Regions from separate parts of the Homo sapiens genome. Here region 1 is linked to region 2. The links are contacts of gene promoters, found by promoter capture Hi-C in human tissues and cell types (Jung and others, 2019). All regions are on one chromosome and are shown on one strand. The core of a region is centred on a gene start or on the middle of the fragment in contact, and the rest is flanking DNA. Distances in the headings are between cores, read along the strand shown.

Evidence for each region. The method cuts DNA at HindIII sites, captures the fragments that hold promoters and counts their contacts. A contact is called where the count stands out against the background at its distance.
Region 1: a fragment that was not itself captured here is called in contact with the fragment with the promoter of OR4D2 in region 2 in 2 of the 25 tissues and cell types used here (dorsolateral prefrontal cortex and mesenchymal stem cells).

The regions. Positions count from the first base shown.
Region 1 is chr17:57,087,017-57,092,078 of GRCh38, reverse strand. The region is part of intron 1 of AKAP1 (A-kinase anchoring protein 1); the gene reads right to left. Among named protein-coding and RNA genes, the nearest start is that of AKAP1, 4.3 kb to the right of the region's middle. RefSeq lists an enhancer at 118-667. The HindIII fragment of the contact is 3,932 bases long and covers 1,155-5,062 here.
Region 2 is chr17:58,165,533-58,170,566 of GRCh38, reverse strand. It overlaps OR4D2 (olfactory receptor family 4 subfamily D member 2), which reads right to left and starts at 3,585. Exons shown (of 2, transcript NM_001004707.4): 1 at 3,514-3,585; 2 at 1-929. The coding sequence starts at 911. The HindIII fragment of the contact is 7,868 bases long and covers 1-5,034 here.

The DNA of each region.
Region 1 (5,062 bases), core at 1,871-4,370, 1.1 Mb after region 2:
CAATCCACACTATTAGAGAGTTTTTAAGTGTCCATTTAGTGGCCAGCCTTTAGGCTGGGCAACTTCACACAAAAATGAAGTTATGGGGCCAGGCACGGTGGCTCACACCTGTAATCTCAGCACTTTGGGAGACCAACATGGAATGATCACTTGAGCCTAGGAGTCTTGAAATGGGTCTGGGCAAGGTGATGAGACCCCATCACTACAAAAAAAATTTTTTTAACTAGCCAGGCATCATGATGTGCACCTATAGTCCCGGGTACTTGGGAGGCTGAGGCAGGAGGATCCCTTGAACCCAGGAATTCAAGGCAGCAGTGAGCTATGATCGAGCCACTGTACTCTAGCCTGGGTGACAAAGCAAGACCTCATCTCTAAATAAATAAATAAATAAATAAATAATGTTTTTAATGGGGTTATGTGGTTTCCTGAAAAATTGCCTGCTGGGGCAACAAGGGGTCCTCACTCCCCAGGCAGCAGTCTGACACCTAGCTCCCCAGCTCCCCAGCTCCCCGGGCTGCCTCAGTCACATGCCTGCCTGCACCAGGAGGCAGGCTGGGCCCCTGCCACAGATCCAGAATAGAAAAGGCAGCCCTGGAGACCTCTTAAGCAGCCACCCCCTCCACACACCCCTTGGCAGCTTCCAGGGTGGCTTTATTCTCCTCTCTCTCCTGACGAGGCGGTGGCAGCAGAGACAGCAGCAGCTTTGGCACCAGGACCTGTCCCGTACACTGCAGCCACATGCACTTGGCCCTCCTAAAGGATGCCACCTGCTAAAAATAGCACCAGCACATGCTTGGCCAGGTGAGCCACACCAAAGCCAAAGGACAAAGCAGGGAGGTTATTTGCAGCACGGCCTTTTCTCCCAGAGACAGCTAAAGGCACAGCTGAGTGTGGGTCTCCCTCCAAGGCAGTTCAGGAAAGTGAGAATCACTCCTGCTCCTTTTTCTTGGGAGTGGCAGAAAGGAGGGGCAAGAAGGAGTGTACAGAAGACTGAACTGTCCTTCAGATCTGTCATCGACCCAACCTCACAAAGGCACATCCAGGCCCAGGCCAGAGAAGGGATGGGGGCTGGGGCTGTGCTTGAAAAGATCTTACTGCCTCCTCTAATCAGGAGGCCAGCTACTGCTGGGTGACAGCCTTTGGAGGGCCAGGAGATGGTCTGTGACCTCCAAGTGAGGTCTGACAGGTGTCGGGAAATTAGTGACTTCAGGATTGTCTTTTTCAATCAGCTCAGTCTTCAGAGCAGTTTCCCTGAGCCCTCAGGCACAGCTTTTTTTATTCATAGTCATTACTTGTGCATTTCAAAAGCACCCGATGGTTGCATAATTCTGATGATAAAATATGGCTTTGGAAAGACAAGAGAGTTAAGAGTAGGATCCTGTACTTCAGTTTCCCATAAAATGAAGATGTTCTGTAATAGGGAATATCTCCCTCACAGAGTTGTAACGAGGCTGAACACACTTAAGTCAGACTCCATATGTGGGATCAATGATTTTAATCTTTGTAAAACCCAGTTTAGTTTCCTGAATGAGGATGTGGTGATAAAGGGGCAGTAAATAAGCAACAACCAATGAGCATGGGGGGCGGCAGGGGCAGAGGAGGAGGTGGGGAGCACGCCCCAGCCCAGGTCCAAGCCAGTCCAGCCCTTGCTGTGTCCAGGGACCAGTTTACTCTACTCGGATCTTGTTTCTTCACCCACAAACTAATCACTGTACTAACCTCATAGGGCTGACAGAGAATAAAAATGACACAGAAAAAAAAAAGCCACTAATATGCCAGTAGGTGCTCATCAGTAAGTGTCCTTTATGCTGCCTGGCTCCAAGAAAAGAGATCTCACATTATATATACCAAAGGTCAATCTAGCAGGGTTCAAACAAAGCACACCCAGGACTAGAAGAGGGGGCATCTGGAAACAAAGAACTCCCCACCCCTGCCACAACAGAACACGTTAGCATCCACGCTGTGGCCCCACTCTCCCCCAACACCTTCTGTGAAGAATGGCCCCTAACATTTAGGTGGACTGGAAACAGCAGAATGAAAACACAACCTCGTTTAAGAGAAGGGCCGCACTGAGATCTGTAGGAAGTCATCAGGTGGGTGAAGGACCAAGTAACAATATGTTGACATCTGACATTTGGAGACCAAGGACAAACCAGCAGGGATCTTTATGATAATAAACGGCTTCAAACCAAAAGGGCTTTCTAAGGGCTTAGCATCTGGACCTTTGCTTCACGCTCCTGTCCCCAGGTCCTTTCTGAAGGTCCTCACTCAAACTGTTTCAAAACTGTTCGTCCACTCCCAACTGGCAGACTAGAACTCACTTGTAGTATGCCATGGAGACAACCAGTAGATAATTTGTCACCAAAGCTGTTGGGTTTATGGACTCTGGAAGACTAAGCTCAAACATGTTATGCTTTAGAGATTTACAAGTTGAGACAATTAAGCTTTTAGAGTTGGAGAAAAAAAAACTTTCTAGGCCGGCGCTGTCCAACAAAACTTTCTTCGATTATGGAAAATGTTCTTGACCTGTACTGACCAGGACGGCAGCCACTAGCTACACGAGGCCACTGAGAACCTGAAATGTGGCTAATGTCACTAAGAAATTTTTTTAAAAATACTTTGAAAAGTTTAATTAGTCACACAGCTAGCAGCTACCCTACAGACAAGGCAGCTCTAAACTCCCCACACCCAGGACAAATTTAGGCAAATAAAGCTATCTTTAAAAATAAAAAATATTTAGAACAGTAGCACACCTTAGAGCTAAGAACTTGAGATGAACAGTGAGTTGTTTTTTTTCCCCTTAAGTCTTTGACATGTACTACCCATTGAGCTGTGCTCCCCAGCCCAAACACATCACTCCAGTGGCCCCTGGGCACGTTTGGTCTAACTCCAAGGCTCCCAGGACCATAATCTGAATACTGATAATTTTGACCAAACCTCTTTTAGCCACTGAATAAACCAAGATCTGGAAGGCCAACCAGCCTGCCTAGAATCACCGCCAGGTTTCAGCTCTGAGAGCTGCAGCAAGTCCCAGGCTCTTGTCAGCTAAGCCCAGCAGTGAAACAAGCCTCATCAGCCCTAGGTTATACATATTTTTACTTCCAGGACTCACCTCAGGGCCCTTCTTTGCTCCCAAGTGCAACTGGGCCTTAGTGACACCTGGCTCGGTGAACACAACCAGCCACCATTACAGAACAGGGAACACAATGTTTACCACTGACTGCTGCAAACTATCAAACCAAGCCGGAAAAACAACCAGATGGTGAAGACCCGGACAGAATGTGGACAAGGCTGCACCATTTAGTAAAATGAAAAAGTTAAGGCAAAGGACACCTTGAAAGCTATTTATTGCTGGAAAGCTAGTTCTCAGAATGCTGAATGATAACACACACAATGTTAACAATCTACTTAGAAAGCAGCAGAAAGATTAGGAGAAAAGCCCAGGGATTTAAGAATATTCCTTGGTTCTTCTCACAAAAGCCATCCAGAGGACCTAGTTTTAACTCCACACCCACGCTTCCTAGTTCCTCTACCCCTCAATTTGAATTTGTGTGACAGCCACTGAAACAATCCAGAATGACCTCCAGCTTCACCCTCACTGTTCTCAGAGGTGTGAGGATTAAAGGATTAGTGTGCTCATAACTCACCTAGCACAGTAACTATCAAGAAAGAGGCATCCTCTCAAGTTTAGCTCCCAGCTCCCCCACTACCTGTTTCTCCAGCCAGACTCTGTCCTACTTCAAACATGCTCACTGATGATGTTTTCCACAGCCCAAGCTTCAAATTAGGTACCAAGGCCAGGAGGTTCCTTCAGTGGGATGCCACATGTGATGGGAACTTAATGTTAAATGATCATAAAAGTGAAAACTGCCTGAGGTATTACACCAGGAAGGAACATGGAAGAAACAGAACTTGCCCTAAGAAGCAAGATTTAGGACTAAAATACACCCCCCACCATAAAGATGAGCAACTCTCAAACAGTATATGAGATGATTTCAATGGGACAAGATGCCCACAGGATCTACTACCTCCCCATAGTGGAAGAAAACGCCTGAGAATGACAAGCTGAAGGTATTAACTCATACCTGAAACAACTGACTTCCCCACAATAGGAAAACAGACCAAGCTACAGAAAGGCCCAATCATTCAGACTCACAGGGAAGATTAGGAAGGAGTGACCTAGGGGAACTCTACGGCCAGCTCTCTGGGTACATTGGCTACAAGCTGCCTGCTCTTCAAAGCCCTGAAATGCACACACAATCAAGTCATGTTGCAGGCTGGGAGCAGGAGGCTAGCCAGCAAAGCTTAGGGAAACCAATTCGTTTTTCCTCCCAAACAAGCTTCTGGGTCAGAGGCTAAGGAGAGGGGTGCTTTTAATAGAATTCAAGTCACTCAAGTAATTCAAGAGAAACAAAGTCAGTCTCAGGGATTGTTCAGGGAGGAGAGGGGAAGAGCAATGCTTAAGCACCTATCACAGTCCCCAGTATCACAAATATGATCTCCATTTGTCTTTAGGACAGGAAAAGGGAATACTGTAGAGGCTAACACCAGCCTTCCCCTAAAATATGGCTGCAACCCAGCCTATGTCCAAAGCTCAAGAATAATTTGGGTTACCAGGCAGCAAGATAAATTGCTTTTAAATATTGATGTTCAGCAACCTTACACTGGAGACATATCGACTTCAGCACCTGAGCAGGCCACTTACAACAGACACCTCCACTGTCACCCTGCAGTGGCCAAGTGAGAATGCATTTCCTAGAAACAACTGGGAGATGGGAGAGATATTCCTACAAGGAACTAGACCTAGACACAAATCCATTAGACCTGTCTCACTCATTGGCTAGGATCTGTTACCTGCAAGTTCTGAGCCATCATCTGACAACATGCATGAAGACAGAGCCTATTAATCCAGTAATGGACTCAAGCTTTAGTGATTTGCATGCCTGTAGGATCCAGAGGACCTCCTCTAACCTAGGGCCATATTTCAAAGAGAATACACCCAAGAATTATGCAGAACCTACAAAACTAGTTAGAGGTTAAAGAAAAGTTCAACACAAGTCAA
Region 2 (5,034 bases), core at 2,336-4,835:
TGTCTCCCTAATCTTCTCACTGCTGCCTGCATGTCCTGGTTCCTCAGGGTATAGATCATGGGGTTGAGCATGGGGGTCATGACTGTGTGGCCGATGGACACAAGCTTGTCCATAGGGAATGGAGTGAAGGGCCGGGCATAGAGGTAAATGCTTGGAACGAAGATCATGGAAACCACGATGATGTGGGTGGTGCAGGTGGAAGCTGCCTTCCTTCTTGCCTCCCCTGGATGTGACCTCAGCATCACCAGGATGAATAAGTAGGACATCAGGAGGAGGAAGAACCAGACGACATCCAGCAGCCCACTGTTGGAGATCTTGAGGAACTCCAGCAGTGAGGTGTCAGTGCAGGCAAGTCTCAGTACTTGGGGAACATCACAGTAGAAGTTATCCAAAATGTTGGGGCCACAGAAGGGCAGTGGGAGCATCAGAGCCAGCTGGACAATAGAGTGGACAAAGCCTCCCACCCAGGTGGCTACCACCAGCCCCACCCAGAGCTGAGTGTTCATGACGGTGACATAGCGGAGGGGCCGGGAGATGGCAATGAGGCGGTCAAAGGCCATCACTGAGAGGAAGAAGACCATGGCACCTCCCAAAAAGTGGAAGAAGAAGATCTGACCCATGCAGCCCTGGTAAGAGATGGTTTTCTTCTCAGAGAGGAGGTCCACTAGCATTTTGGGAGCAGTGACTGAAGAGAAACAGAGGTCTAGGACAGCCAGGTTTCGGAGCAGAAAGTACATGGGTGTGTGGAGCTGGGAATCAGAGGTCACTGTGATGATGATAAGGATGTTTCCCATAACAGTGGTGATGTAGACAAACAGGAACATTAGAAACAGGAAACGCTGGAGCTCCCGAGTCTGCGAGAGCCCCAGGAAGACAAAGTCTGATACCCACGTGAGGTTCCCTGTTTCCATGGTGTTTTCTCCATACACCTGAAGAAAATGAACCACAGACACAGATACATGAAGTCACTACTTTCCCTTTCAGGGCTCAGGGGCTCAGAACCAAGGTTTTAGGCCCATATGATGAGCATCCTTATGTGTAGACCATTATACTAGGTGCTGTCTTGTCTCTGGATCGTTTACAAGTGGGTGCTGGAATATACATTCCTGAAATCTTAACGCCATCCAGAAGTATATACAACCTGCCTTTCAAAGATTCATATAGTGGTGGGAAGACACTTGGAGTCAGATACATCTGAAGTCAAATTTCAGGTCTTTCATTTCATTGTGATTTGACCATGAGTAACTTACTTAATCTTTCTGGGCCTCAGTTTTCACGGGAATTTGTAAGGTAGAAATAAAAATACCTGCTTTGTAGAATTTTCTGAGGACTTAAGTAGAATGATAGATATAAAGTTCCTAAAACAGTGTATGGAATAATCAATGGCAATTACTCACCTGTGTGAATTCTCTTAATCTAAAGATATCCTCTCTTCCACTCTGTAATAAGATTCTTTGCCAATTATTTTTCACATGACATTTAATACATCATCGTGTTAATGGATTTTCCTTGTCTATATTTTCCCTCCACAATTCAACTATTAAGTCCAAAGCCTATATCTGGATCTCACAATTTATTTGTGCCCTGCAGTACCCATTCTTAATGACAGTTAACTTAAAAAGCTCTTGGTGTTGACTGCTGCATGGGTGAATAGCTATCAGGTGCACAAGTTCAGCACAAGGAAGACACTGGATGCAGCTGGATGCCTGAGACATCCAGTAGTTCCCCTGCCCTCCACTGTGGGCGGCCCCTTATGAGTGAGGCATATGTGGTGGTGCTGAGACAAGAGGGAGAAAAGGGAGGGAGAGTCATTGGATTGAGAAATAGATGATGAATATTGTATGAAGGGGACTCAGAGAGCTTCTGAATGAAACAGGAATTTTACAAGATGTTACTGAATCCAAGGGTGGGAGACAAAGGAAGTTGTTGAAAGAAAACAAATAGAAATAGACAAAGGAATAAAGGGAGATGAAGGAATAGAGCAAGTGAAGGTAAAGGAAGTGGAAAAGTGCTGGGGAGGTGGAGAAAACGGGACTAAAGGGACAGAAGAAGATGGAGGAGCCGGGAGAGGTGGCTCACGCCTGTAGTCCCAGAAATTTGGGAGGCGGAGGCGGATGGATCACTTGAAGTCAGAAGTTTGAGACCAGCCTGGCCAACATGGTGAAACTCCGGATCTGTACTAAAAATACAAAAAAATTAGCCGGGCGTGGTGGCACACACCTGTAATCTCAGCTACTTGGGAGGCTGAGGCAGGAGAATCGCTTGAAGCTGGTTGGAGGCTGCAGTGAGTGGAGGTCATGCCACTGCACTCCAGCCTGGGTGACAGAGCGAGACTCTGTCTCAAAAAATCAAAAACAAAAAAAAAAGAAGAAGAAGATGGAGGGTGACAGGGGAGGGGGTCAGTGGTCTCCCCCCTCCCCCTGCCCTGTCTCAATCTCTCTTACCCTCTCTTACCTGGCCTATTGCAATCTATTATCTACAATATTATAGGTCATTCTAATCTTATTCTGCTCCTTCAGTTTACTTCCACTCCAGGACACCTTCTTTTTTTTTTTTTTTTTTTTTTTGTGACGGAGTCTCGCTGTCGCCCAGGCTGGAGTGGCGCGATCTCGGCTCACTCACTGCAAGCTCCGCCTCCCGGGTTCACGCCATTCTTTTACCTCAGCCTCCCGCGTAGCTGGAACTACAGGCGCCCACCACCTCGCCCGGCTAATTTTTTTTGTAACACGGTTTCACTGTGTTAGCAGGATGGTCTCGATCTCCTGACCTCGTGATCCGCCCGCTTCCGCCTCCCAAAGTGCTGGGATTACAGGCATGAGCCACCGCGCCTGGCCTCACTCCAGGACACCTTCTACACAGCTGTCCATGAGACCCCTCTGACTCAGATGTGATCATATTCCTCATTGTTATAATATTTGATTTGCTCACAGCTTAAAACTCAAACTCTCAGAAGCCACCTAAAATGCTCTGTGGATAAACTGAGGGTGGAAAAACATACCTACATACGTGCATGCAACTCTCTCTCAGCATTTCATACAAGACTATAAAAAATAGCCTCCCTATACCTTTCTAATCAGTATCACTGTCACCTGGGAACTGATTGCTGTTCAAAGAACTCATAGCTTCCATGTAGGCAGTATATTTCATTATTTTCATATCTTTGGTAATAAATCCTGTTTCCTGAAATGCCTTTTGCTACCTTCTCAACCTAGAGGCGATAAGAGAAATATCACTTTCCCTTTGACTCCTCCCCCCATTTCTCTCATGCAGAATTAATTCCTTATTTCTCTGTGTTCCAATAGCATTTGATAAATACCTCCATTATAGCATTTATCATTTTTTCTATTGCTTCTCTTAACTAGATTGTAAATTCAATAACTTAGTAAGCCCAGAGTCTATGACAGCATCTCTGATTTAGCACTTGCTCAGAAATGTTTGCCAACTTAATATATTAGCAGGTAAATGTGACTTTGTTTTATGTGACAATGTCGAGAATCTTGTGATTTTCCTCACCGTTGATGTCCTTTGCTGTGAGCATCCTCCCTCTAAGTCTCATAGGGCGAATTCTGTGCTTTGTTGTTTTCCTATGTAATCGGAGGCATCCGTTTTCAACATCACATTCCCCTTGCAGTTTTTCTTGAGTCTCTGCTCATCCTTTAGACTTACTATCGTCAGGTCTATGTCACTTGCTTATTACTCCCACCCTCTAGCAGGTGTTGCAAGATCTTTCTTACAGCTGATCTCTGTGCAGCTGAGGAAACACTGGTCTCTCACCTCCCTTTAGCCCAGAATGGGGCTTCAGTGTACATCTTCTTGGAGATCCTTTGCTTCAGCCTCACAGTTTCTTAGCTCCTGCCCTTACTTCATGAATAATACCATGGGTGAGACCCCAGGGGAAGGGGGAATATCCTTTGGGAGAAACTATTGGACAGGGCTCAGGAAGCTGAGCTGGGCTGATTATCACTGGGGCCAAGGGAGCAATGGGAGTTGTTAAAAAGTTTCTAAATGTCTCAAAAGCACACACTCTTTGAGAGGTCTTCCTTGGGGGGCCCAAAGTACCAAGCACATTGAAAATTTTAGAGATTTGAGGAATGGGTAATATTCAGGCCAAGATCCAAAAGGACAAGAGGGTCTTCAAAAAAAAGGAGACTCTGAGAGTTTTAGGAGAATTTCTTTCTTAGACCAGTGACACCTACCCTTGAGAGAATTACCTGAAGGCCTTGTTAAAAGGCAGACTTCTGTTCCCAGCCCAGAATTTCTCATTCAGTACATCAATGGTAAGACCAAGAATTTGCATTTGTAGCAAGTTCTCAGATAATGCTGATGCACCTGTTCCAGGGACCAGACATTGAGAACCAACGACTTGCTCTTCAGCACAATGGATAGTTCTCTTTCATGGTGTTGTCAAGGTAACTGGTTTGATTTCTTCTCCTTTTAAACTGAATTGATCTTTACATAGGCAACGTCATGGATGGGAAAATGTCTGCATACTAAAATGAAAACTTAATTACCCCATAAATCTTGTTCTTCATCTTGTCAACCAATACCCCCACAGTTGATTCACTACCCATATCAATTATACTCACACCATCTACAAAGTGCTAGCATTATTTACATGTCAATTATTACTCCCTTTAATACAAGGATTGGCACAAGAAGCCCATATATTTTCTAATTATGAGGAACTGATTAAAAATTGGAATTAACCAACACTGTAAGCTTGATGTGCTGTAAAATCTGTGTGATTTCTCACAGCTCTCTGATCCACGTGAGGTTCTCAGGTTGGTCTGAGTTCTTTCATTGCGAATGTTTATACTTGGCAAAATAAAGACTCTGCCTCTGGGGATAAGAACACGAAGTGACGTTCTTTCACATACAAGAGATGTCAATTTAAAAAAAACACAAATTCTTCCCATTATTTGGAGCTTTAGTCTACTTTAAAATTGAGCCACTCAGGAAAGTAGTCTAGATTGATGGTGGGGATGGGCACAGGCCTTGTTAATGTTATTGACTCTCAGATGGGTGATTTTGAAT